Linked DNA regions of Homo sapiens: all the other regions are linked to region 1. Evidence: promoter capture Hi-C in human tissues and cell types (Jung and others, 2019). All regions are on one chromosome and are shown on one strand. The core of a region is centred on a gene start or on the middle of the fragment in contact, and the rest is flanking DNA. Distances in the headings are between cores, read along the strand shown. Region 1 holds the start of SEH1L (SEH1 like nucleoporin). Region 2 overlaps AFG3L2 (AFG3 like matrix AAA peptidase subunit 2). Region 3 overlaps LDLRAD4 (low density lipoprotein receptor class A domain containing 4). Region 4 overlaps LDLRAD4 (low density lipoprotein receptor class A domain containing 4).

What was found. The method cuts DNA at HindIII sites, captures the fragments that hold promoters and counts their contacts. A contact is called where the count stands out against the background at its distance.
Region 2: a contact is called between a fragment that was not itself captured here and the fragment with the promoter of SEH1L in region 1, in 1 of the 25 tissues and cell types used here (lymphoblastoid cells).
Region 3: a fragment that was not itself captured here is called in contact with the fragment with the promoter of SEH1L in region 1 in 1 of the 25 tissues and cell types used here (dorsolateral prefrontal cortex).
Region 4: a contact is called between a fragment that was not itself captured here and the fragment with the promoter of SEH1L in region 1, in 1 of the 25 tissues and cell types used here (lymphoblastoid cells).

The regions. Positions count from the first base shown.
Region 1 is chr18:12,946,748-12,949,447 of GRCh38, forward strand. SEH1L (SEH1 like nucleoporin) reads left to right here and starts at 1,264. Exons shown (of 9, transcript NM_001013437.2): 1 at 1,264-1,485. The coding sequence starts at 1,375. RefSeq lists silencers at 962-1,411, 1,452-1,801, 1,812-1,911 and an enhancer at 1,843-2,444. The HindIII fragment of the contact is 16,054 bases long and covers 1-2,700 here.
Region 2 is chr18:12,338,962-12,341,661 of GRCh38, forward strand. It overlaps AFG3L2 (AFG3 like matrix AAA peptidase subunit 2), which reads right to left. Exons shown (of 17, transcript NM_006796.3): 15 at 1,240-1,440. All of the region lies in intron 1 of LOC107985154 (a long non-coding RNA gene), which reads left to right. Among named protein-coding and RNA genes, the nearest start is that of TUBB6, 32 kb to the left of the region's middle. The HindIII fragment of the contact is 6,920 bases long and covers 1-2,700 here.
Region 3 is chr18:13,506,286-13,508,985 of GRCh38, forward strand. The region is part of intron 4 of LDLRAD4 (low density lipoprotein receptor class A domain containing 4); the gene reads left to right. Among named protein-coding and RNA genes, the nearest start is that of LDLRAD4-AS3, 37 kb to the left of the region's middle. The HindIII fragment of the contact is 7,095 bases long and covers 1-2,700 here.
Region 4 is chr18:13,572,964-13,575,663 of GRCh38, forward strand. All of the region lies in intron 4 of LDLRAD4 (low density lipoprotein receptor class A domain containing 4), which reads left to right. Among named protein-coding and RNA genes, the nearest start is that of MIR4526, 37 kb to the right of the region's middle. The HindIII fragment of the contact is 8,876 bases long and covers 1-2,700 here.

The DNA.
Region 1 (2,700 bases), core at 14-2,513:
TCTTATTTATGGTTGAAAAAGGTCAGGTCATTGCGCCACTTCTCTTTGCAGGTTTCTGTGCAATCCATCAGGGGACAGCTGGGACTAATCATTTAAAAAACTTTCCAGCCTGCTAATTTTACCATACCTCACATTTTTGTCATTCCTGGCCAAAATCCAAAGGGCAAGTCCCTTCTGCAGCCTCATTTTTTTTTTTTCTGTACTTTCGCTCCCCTGACGCAAGCTTCCACTGTCTCCCATCCTAACTTTACCACTACGCCCTCTAGAATGCCTTTTCCTGATAAGCAAAACCCCCCGAGTCGTTGGCTCCTCCACTTTCCGGTTTTGGCAGAATCCTTGATCTGAGCCAGGCCTCTTCCCAGGGGCTCTGGCCCTCTTCACTTCCTTTTCCCCGGAGGACTCTGGCTCCCGGGTAGCAAGCAGCCCACTTCCCCGGCCGCTTCCTTCCCCCGGGATGACACGTTTCTACAGGCGGACTCTTCTAATTCATACTATTTCCCTACCCCCGTGGTGGCTCCTAGCACCCCCAGGCCTGTTCTACCTGTAAAATCTTGACACATTTAAACTACTACTTCTGATCCTTTCCTCCCCGTCCAGCCTTCGCTCTTAGGCTGCCGAGCCTGGACTGCTTGTCATCCCCTCAGGCGTCTCCCCGGCCCTCCCTGCTCTTCAGCCGTCCCGACGGAGCGCGGCTCCTGACCAAACCCACGGTTCGTCTTCTCCACCTGCTCCGCGCGCCTCGCATGTGTCTGGGGGGAAACACATCCAAACGTCGACTTAAATGATTCAGGGCCGAGGACCGTGAGAGGCAGTCTTCACTTTTTCATCTTTCTTCATTTGCACAGTATACCAATAAGCTCTTACTACTTCTCAGCACAGGTAACTCGCCTTTTGCAGAGCACCCTCCGCCGCCGAACGGTCAGAGCCTGGAGGAACCCGCACCAGGATCGTAGGGCATGACGGGCCGGGGGCGGGACGAGGATTGACGAGCCGGGAACAGGGCGGGGCTTGAGGGGGCGGGAGGGTGGGGCGAGGCATGACGGCTCTGGTGGGAGGGTAGGCGGGGCTTGACGGGCCTGGGGGCGGGGCGGGGCTTGAGGGACCGGAAGGTGGGGCGAGTCATGACGGGCCGGGGCGTGGGCAGGGCTTGAGGGGCCAGGGGACTGTGTGGGGCCTGACGGGCCGGTGGGTGGGGCGGGGCTTGAAGGACCGGAGGGTGTGTGGGCGGGGCTTGATAGGCAGGGGCGGTGCGGGGGCGTGGGCAGCACAAGCCGTGCGCTCCCGGGCTGCGAGGTCTGGCTAGGCTACGGGCCACGCGCCGCCGCCGCTGCCGCCGCCACTGTCCTCTTCGGAGGCGCGGGCCCGACGGAAACCATGTTTGTGGCTCGCAGCATCGCGGCGGACCACAAGGATCTCATCCACGATGTCTCTTTCGACTTCCACGGGCGGCGGATGGCAACCTGCTCCAGCGATCAGAGCGTTAAGGTGCGCGCGGCGCTTGCGGGCGGGGCCGACCCCGGAAGGAAGGAAGGGGAGTGGGTGGGCGGCGCGGGGAACGGGGCTGTGTCTTGGTTCAGTGACGCCGCTGGAAGCTGTGGGGTGGCGGGCGAGCCCTGGCTGGACTGAGCGGAAGCCCTCCCCGCCCGCGTATTGTGGGGTCACGGCGGCCTCGCGGGCCGCCCTCCCGTGCGCCTGCGCAGCTGGTGCCACGTGCGCGCTCCCGCCCGCAGGGTACGCCGGGCCCTCTCCCAGGCCGCGCTGCCGGGGCTGCGGGCGGGAACCCAGGGGCATCCCACCGTCAGCCTCGGCGTCGTGGGTCTTGCCCGCGCTGTTCACCCGACGACCTGCAGTGGGACCTGGTGGGAGACTTTGCCTGGCTGGCGCTGCGTCGAGTTCTGTGCCCCGCCGGTGTTCTCTCACCAGGGCACATGGTTTTCTCCGTGGGTTCAGAGCAGAAGCTCACTTTGTTACGCCGAGGAAGAAAAATACAAACCATTTACATCCAATGATTTCCCTGCTTGCTGCCCAGGAATCGGAGGGTTTGTTTCTTGAAGTTCCCGTAAACGTCTGTAGACACTTCCGACAAGCAGAATTTCTTTTCTTTTTTTTTTTTTTTTTTTGAGACCGAGTCTCACTCTGTCACCCAGGCTGGAGTGCAATGGCACGATCTCGGCTCACTGCAACGTCCGCCTCCCGCTTTCAGGCGATTATCCTGCCCCAGCCTCCCAAGTAGCAGGGATTACAGGTGCACGCCACCACCCCCGGCTAATCTTTTTTTTTTTTTGTATTTTTTAGTAGAGACAGAGTTTCACCATGTGGGCCAGGCTGGTCTCGAACTCCTGACCTCGTGATCCACCCGCCTCGGCGCCTCGGCCTCCCAAAGTGCTGGGATTACAGGCGTGAGCCACCGCGCCCGGCCTACAAGCAGAATTTCTAATGTGGGGATGCTACATGAGATTTAGGAACCTCCCAGATGTGTTGCAGGATGAATGAAAGCTGGAGTGCGGATTATTTGGTTCTCGACAACTCCAGAGTAACTGGAAATCTGAAGGATAGTTTATCCTTTTTCACATTCGAGTTTGATACCAGTGATCTCTCAAAGATAAACTTTTTATAAATAGTGTTGCAATTTTTAAAAGATGTAGTTTCTTTTTTAAAACAAGTTTATTTTTGTTGTAATAAACTACGTTAACCGTTTTT
Region 2 (2,700 bases), core at 190-2,689, 610 kb before region 1:
AGGTTTCTCGGGGCCGGGCACGGTGGCTCACGCCTGTAATCCCAGCACTTTGGCAGGCCAAGGCGGGCGGATCACCAGGTCAGGAGACAAGACCATCCTGGCTAACACAGTGAAATGCCTGCCTCTACTAAAGATACAAAAAATTAGCCAGGAGTGGTGGCGGGCACTACTTGGGAGGCTGAGGCAGGAGAATGGCGTGAACCTGGCAGGCGGAGCTTGCAGTGTGCCCAGATGGCGCCACTGCACTCCAGCCTGGGCGACCGAGACTCTGTCTCAAAAAAAAAAAAAAAAAAAAAAAAAAGGTTTCTCAGCCAAGCACAGCGGCTCATGCCTGTAATCCCAGTGCTTTGAGAGGCCGAGGCGGGCGGATCACCTGAGGTCAGGAGTTCAAGACCAGCCTGACCAACATGGAGAAACCCCGTCTCTACTAAAAATACAAAACTAGCCAGGCGTGGTGGCACATGAATGTAATCCCAGCTACTCAAGAGGCTGAGGCAGGAGAATTGCTTGAACCCAGGAGGCAGAGGTTGTGGTGAGCCGAGATCGCACCATTGCACTCCAGCCTGGGCAACAAGAGCAAAACTCCAGATCAAAAAAAAAAAAAAACAAAAAAGCTGGGCGCAGTGGCTCACGCCTGTAATCCCAGCACTTTGGGAGGCTGGAGGATCACAAGGTCAGGAGATAAGACCATCCTGGCTAACACGGTGAAACCCTGTCTCTACTAAAAATACAAAAAAATCAGCCAGGCGTGGTGGTGGGCGCCTGTAACCCCAGCTCCTCAGGAGACTGAGGCAGAAGAATGGTGTGAACCTGGGAGGCAGAGCTTGCAGTGAGCCGAGATTGCACCACTGCACTCCAGCCTGGGCAAGAGTGCGAGGCTCAGTCTCAAAAAAAAAAAAAAAAAAAAAATTAGCCACATGTGGTGGCGCATGCCTGTAATCCCAGCTACTCAGGAGGCTGAGGCAGGACAATCACTTGAACCCAGGAGGCAGAGGTTGCAGTGAGCCAAGATAGAGCCACTGCACTCCAGCCTGGGCAACAGAGGGAGACTGTGTCTCAAAAAAATAAAGTTTCTCTTCATAAGTTTTAATTGCTTTACTTCTTTTAAGAGATAATCCTTGCCTAAAAAGCCTAAAACAGTGAAGCACAACTATATTGTTTCAGAGCCATTCATAGAATGTCAATTTCTCGTGCAAATATGAATACATGAGGAGGAAATGCACTCTTTCATATACTCACTTGGGCATATGCACTCTGAGTTACTTTTCTCAAGTCATCTTGAGCACCAGTTGTAATTCTTCCAAAGAAGATTTCTTCAGAGACTCGACCACCTAAAGTCATACACATCCTATCCAAGAGCTGCTCTTTGGTATAGAGGTATTGTTCTTTTGGTAAATACTGAGCATAACCTAGTCCTTTGCCACGTGGGATGATGGATACCTGGTAAGTAGAAAACAGTGTTGAAGATCCTACTACAGATGAAGACTTGATCAAAACATCTGTGTATAAACAGATAAACTCATTGACTAAAAATAAGCACAACAGCCGCACAGTTCATCAGCCTTAGTGGGATGTGATCTAGCAGTGACTGCTCAGGAGGAGTATTTTCTCTCAGGATAAGTTCACCTTAGAGTGTTTTTTTTCTTGAGATTGAGATTGAGTCCTGCTCTGTCACCCAGGCTGGAGTGCAGTGGCACGATCTCAACTCACTGCAACCTCCACCTCCCGGGTTCAAGTGATTCTCCTGCCTCAGCCTCCTGAGTAGCTCGGATTATAAGCGCCCACCACCAGGCCTGGCTAATTTTTTATTTTTAGTAAAGAAGGGGTTTCACCATGTTGGTCAGGCTGGTCTCGAACGCCTGAGCTCGTGATCCTCCTGCCTCAGCCTCCCAAACTGCTGGGATTACAGGCGTGAGCTACCACGTCCAGCTTCACCTTAGAATTCTAAATGGCTTTTCTTTTTTTTTTTTTTTTTAAGTAAAAACAGGGTCTCACTTTGCTGCTCGGGATGGTCTTAAACTCCTGACTACAAGCAATTCCCCCACCTTGGCCTCCCAAAGTGCTAGGATTACAGGCATGCGCCACCACACCCAGCAAATTTCTTGTCTTTTTGTAAAACTCAATTGAAAGTATTCCATCTTGACATTCTGACAGTTCTGATGTTGTGCAAGCATGCAGGCTTCATTCAACTCTGCTGTCGGACGTGGCCACACCCTCCTTTGAAGGAAGAGGGGTACAGCAGGCCAAGATGCTCGGCAGCCTTTCCTTTCCAGTCCTCTTTTGCAATTAAGTAAATTCCTTTAATTTTTAAAAAATTCAGTTTATTGAGAGATGACATATATGGTAAAATGCACCCATCTGAAGTGTAGAGTTCAATGAGTTTTGACAAACATAACATCAAGCCACAATGAAGATACAGAATATTCTCATCATGCCCAGAAAGTTCCCTTGTACCCACTGGTAGGGAGTCTTTCCCTCCACACCCAACCCCAGGCAACCACAGACATGCCTTCTGTCCCTATGGATTAGTTTAGCTTCTAGAATTGCAAATAAATGAAATTGTATGGCACATACTTCATTGTTTGGCCTCTTTCCCTGTTTTTGAGATCCATAGATACTGCTGTATGTATTAATAATCATTCATTTTTACTGCTGTGTGGCACTCCACTGCTACAAACATACCAAATATCCATTTCATTC
Region 3 (2,700 bases), core at 59-2,558, 560 kb after region 1:
ATGTGTACATGTGCCATGTTGGTGTGCCGCACCCATTAACTCGTCATTTACATTAGGTATATCTCCTAATGCCATCCCTCCCCCTCCCCCCACCCCAGCTGTTTCTTTTATAACTCCGTTTACGGTAGGCTTGAATTTCACTTCCAGCAGGACTTTTTATTTCTTTGCTGCACTTTTAACTTTGTTGGTGGTTTTCCTCTTTTGATGACCCGTTTTTATAAACATCACATACATTTACCCCTGGGTGACAGGGACCAACACAGCTACATACTTTGCATTCTGTACATGAAAAACAGCAGGTTATCCAGAAGCTCTAGCTAAGATCACTGATGAAGGTGGCTGCACTAAACAACAGATTTTCACTGTAGATGGAATAGCCCTCTATTGGAAGAAGATGCCATGTAGGATTTTCATAGCTGGAGAGGTCAATGCCTGGCCTCACAGCTTCAAAGGACAGGCTAAATTTCTCATTAGGGGCTAATGCAGCTGGTGACTTTAAATTGGCATGGTAACCAGTTGCCAACAGACTTTGAGAGAAGTGACCTGCTTGGTCACTGACCATGGCACTCATCTGTCATTTGCATGGTGATCTGCATGGCAGAAGTGCTAGCTGTGAAGTCTGCAGTTTCGGCGCTGACAGTGACTCTATACAGGAGTACCTCGCTTTACTGTGCTTCACAGATACCGTGTTTTTTACAAGTTGAAAGTGTATGGCAACCTCACATGGAGCAAGTCTCTCAGTGCCATCTTCTCAGTAGCATGGGTGCATTTCATGTATCTGTGCCACATTTTGGCAATTCTTGTGATATTTTCAACTTCTTATTATATGTTATGGTGATCTGTGACAGTGATCTTTTTTAAAATTCTTTTTAATTTTAATTTTTAAAATGTTTATTTCAATAGGTTTTTTGGGGAACAGGTGGTTTTGGTTACATGGATAAGTTCTTTAGTGGTGATTTCTGAAATTTGGGTGCACCCATCACCCGAGCAGTGTATGCTGTACCCGATATTTAGTCTTTTATCTCTTACCCTCCTCCCAACTTCCCCGCGAAGTCCCCATAGTCCATTATATCATTCTTATGCCTTTGCATCTTCATAGCTTAGCTCCCACTTATAAGTGAGAACATATGATACTTAGTTTTTCATTCCTGAGATACTCCACTTGGAACAATAGCCTCCATCCAAGTTGCTGCAAAAGACATTATTTCATTCCTTTGTATGATTGAGTAGTATTCCATGGTGTGTATATCTACCACATTTTCTTTATCCCCTCATTGGTCAGTGAGCACTTAGGTTGGCTCCATATCTTTGCAATTGTGAATTGTGCTGCTATAAACATGCATGCATATGTGATACAGTGATCTTTGATGTTACTATTGTAGTTGTTTTGGGGCACCACAAACCATACCCATATAAGACAGTGAACTTAGTGTTGTGTGTGTTCTGACTGCTCCACTAGCTGTTCCGTCACTTCTCTTCCTTTCCTTGGGCCCCTCTAATTCTCCAAGACACAAGAATATTGAAATTAGGACAAATAATAACCCTACCGTGGCCTCTATGTGTTCAAGTGGAAGGAAGAGTTGCACATCTCTCACTTTAAGTCAAAAGTTCAAGATGATTAAACTTAGTGAGGAAGGCAGGTTGAAAGCCTGGTAGTCTGAAAGCTAGGCCTCTCATGCCAAACAGTTAGCCAAGTTATGAATGCAAAGGAAAAGTTCTTGAAGGAAATTAAAAGTGCTACTCCAGTGAACACACAAATGATAAGAAAGCAAAACAGCCTCATTGTTGACATGAAGAAAGTTTAAGTGGTCTGGATAGAAGGTCAAACCAGCCACAACATTCCCTTAAGACAAAGCCTAATCCAGAGCAAGATCCTAACTCACTTCAATTCTATGAAGGCTGAGAGAGGTGAGGAAGCTGCAGGAGAAAAGTTGGAAGCTAGCAGAGGTAGGTTCATGAGGTTCAATGAAAGAAAACATCTACATACCATCAAAGTGCAGGGTAAAGCAGCAAGTGCTGGGGTAGAAGCTGCAGCAGGTTATCCAGAAGCTCTAGCTAAGATCACTGATGAAGGTGGCTGCACTAAATAACAGATTTTCAGTGTAGGTGGAATAACCCTCTATTGGAAGGAGATGCCATGTAGGGTTTTCATAGCTGGAGAGGTCAATGCCTGGCCTCAAAGCTTCAAAGGACAGGCTAAATTTCTCACTAGGGGCTAATGCAGCTGGAGACTTTAAATTGCAGCCAATGCTCATTTCCCATTCCAAAAATCCTAGGGTCCTAAAGAATCATGCTAAATCTATGCTGCCTGTGCTCTAGAAATAGAACAACAAAACTGGATGACAGCAGATCTAAAATAGATCCATAGATGTATTTTTAGCCCACTGTTGAGACCTACTGCTCAGGAAAAAAAAAGATTCCTTTCAAAGTATTACTGCTCATTAATAATGCACCTGGTCACCAAGAGCTCTGATAGAGACCTACAGAGAGGTTAATGTTATTTTCATGCCTGCTAACACAACATCCACTCTGTAGCCCATGGATTGAGGAGCAATTTTTACTTTTAAGTCTTATTCTTTAAGAAATAAATTTCCTAAGGGTATAGCTGCTATAAATAGTGATCCTTCTGATGGATCTGGGCAAAGTAAATTGAAAACCTTCTGAAAAGGATTCCTCATTCTAGATGCCATTAAGAACATT
Region 4 (2,700 bases), core at 73-2,572, 630 kb after region 1:
TGCCTGCTCTGTGGGGCTGGAGGTGTGCCCTCCTGTGCTGTGTGGATGTTATTAGATGTTGGAAAGCTGCAGTGTTCATTTGGGAAGGAGTTACTGCTCTGAAAGGTTTGTTCTCCTTTATTTTATTTTATTTTTATTTTTATTTTATTTTATTTTTTTGAGACGGAGTCTCGCTCTGTTGCCCAGGCTGAAGTGCAGTGGCATGATCTTGGCTCACTGCAGCCTCCGCCTCCCGGGTTGAAGCGATTCTTTTGCCTCAGCCTCTTAAGTAGCTGGGATTACAGGTACCCACCACCACGCCCCACTAATTTTTGTATTTTTAGTAGAGATGAAGTTTTGCCTTGTAGGCCAGGGTGGTCTCGAACTCCTGGCCTCAGGTGTTCTGCCCACCTCGGCCTCCCAAAGTGCTGGGATTACAGGTACCCATCACCACGCCCCACTAATTTTTGTATTTTTAGTAGAGATGAAGTTTTGCCTTGTAGGCCAGGCTGGTCTCGAACTCCTGGCCTCAGGTGATCTGCCCACCTCGGCCTCCCAAAGTGCTGGGATTACAGGTGTGAGCCACTGGCTGCTCTCCTTTAAAGAGAAGGTTTGTTCTCCTTGATTCTCCTGTACAGTTTTTTCTTAAAATTTGTTTAGAAATCTAGGAGCATGCTGGGCTCACATTATAGGTGACAGGAATAGGCTGACAAAACACACACCTTGCATAAGCCAACAAGCATTGGACTAGAATTCATTTGCTGTCAGATTTGGGGGCAGTGACAGTCTTTTGGTAGAATTGTAATCAAAGGAACAAACTCAGAGAACAATCTGGGTAAAGAGACTGGTGTCAGGTTAAGTTCAGATCTGTAGACCCTTCTCAGGTGGTGAAGCCGAGACCACAGACACAGATCCTGGAGAGGGATTAGAAGCCAGACATTCCGTGGGTGACGCGCTCCTTCTCCTGTTCCCATCTCCGCATTTCCTGGTCAGGAACCTCATGAAAGACAGCTGCATTTTTTCCAGGCTGGTATCTCTCACCAGAGTGAGGCTTGTGGGCTTCATGCATAGCGATGGATACAGAAGCCTTGGCTGTTGGTGAAGACACTGAGGTGTATGGATATATTGACCACTGTGGGGAAGGCTCTAACTCTTGGTCGTTCCACTTGCTCACTGCTCTTCTTTGATGGTTGAGAAAGTGGTAGGATGACCAGATTTGCAAAAGCCCATCTCACTATTATCAAATTTAATAGTGGATGTTCTGCCGTCTGCTATTATTACCCATGGTTTGCTTTTGTGTGTGGGTATTAGAAAGCCTTTTAGGGAAAAAGCAGAATGTGGCTGGGCTACAGCTCCTGAGGAAGCCGGCCATGGCAGCACTCTTCCCATGCTGTCCCTGGGCCTAGGAGAGCAACCGCTCTCTGTTCACAGTGTGCCGTCCAGACCCCTATTTAGATCCCTGTCATGTGGTAGTTCATCCACCTGGACATCTTCCTCACCATGGCAGCAGCTCCTTGGGAGCAGGAACTATGTCCTGTTCGTCTTTGTACCCCTAGCACCTGCTATTTAAGAAGGACTCCAGAAGCCTCGATGTGCGGCAGGACCATGGCCGATGTGTCTCCCTGGCACCTCTGTCTCAGGGTTAACTTTCCTCGCTGCCTGAGAGCCCCCGGCTTTGACGCTCATGGAGCCCTGGCATTGAGTGTGAGCACTTCACACTCTACCTCTCTCAGTTGGCCCTCCGAAATGCCTCAATTTAGGAGTGGTGCCCCACTGTGGAGGGTATTTTCAGGACCATCTTACAAATTATTGTGAAGTGTTGGAAACAAAGAGCTTCCTGCTTCTTTTCAACCTGGTTCTACCATGTTCCAAGCTGTAGCCAAAAGGAAAATAAATCAGAGCTTGAAACTAGCCTTTCTGATGGGAATATCTATCTGGGACACCCCTCCCTTTTTGTCTCTTGCCCCCATACGTCTCCTCCTTACAGCACAGGCTGTTTGGGAAGGAGGACAGGATATGTCATCTAACTTTTTTTCCATCCCTAGCTGAGTCACTGATTAAAAACAAATGAACAAACAAAAACCTAAAAAACCTTCCAGAAATACAAAGGAAAAGGGTTTGTTTGTTTTTTATTTTAATTTTTATTTCTGTAGGTTTTTGGGGAACAGATGGTATTTAGTTACATGAGAAAGTTATTTAGTGGTGATTTGTGAGATTCTGGTGCACCCATCACCCGAGCAGCCTTCACTGTACCCAATATGTAGTCTTTTATCCCTCACTTACCTCCCACCCTTTCCCCTGAGTCCCCAAAGTCCATTGTGTTATTCTTATGCCTTTGCATCCTCATAGCTTAGCTCCCACTTGTGAGTGAGAACATATGATGTTTGGTTTTCCATTCCTGAGTTACTTCACTTAGAATAATAGTCTCCATCCAGGTTGCTGCAAATGCCATTAATTTGTTCTTTTTTATGGCTGAGTAGTATTCCATGGTGTATATATACCACAATTTCTTTATCCACTCATTGATTGATGGGCATTTGGGCTGGTTCCATATCTTTGCAGCTGTGAATTGTGCTGCTATAAACATGCGTGTGCAAGTATCTTTTTCGTATAATGACTTATTTTCCTCTGGGTAGATACCCAGTAGTGGGATTACTGGATCAAATGGTAGTTCTTTCTACTTTTAGTTCTTTAAAGAATCTCCACATTGTTTTCCATAGT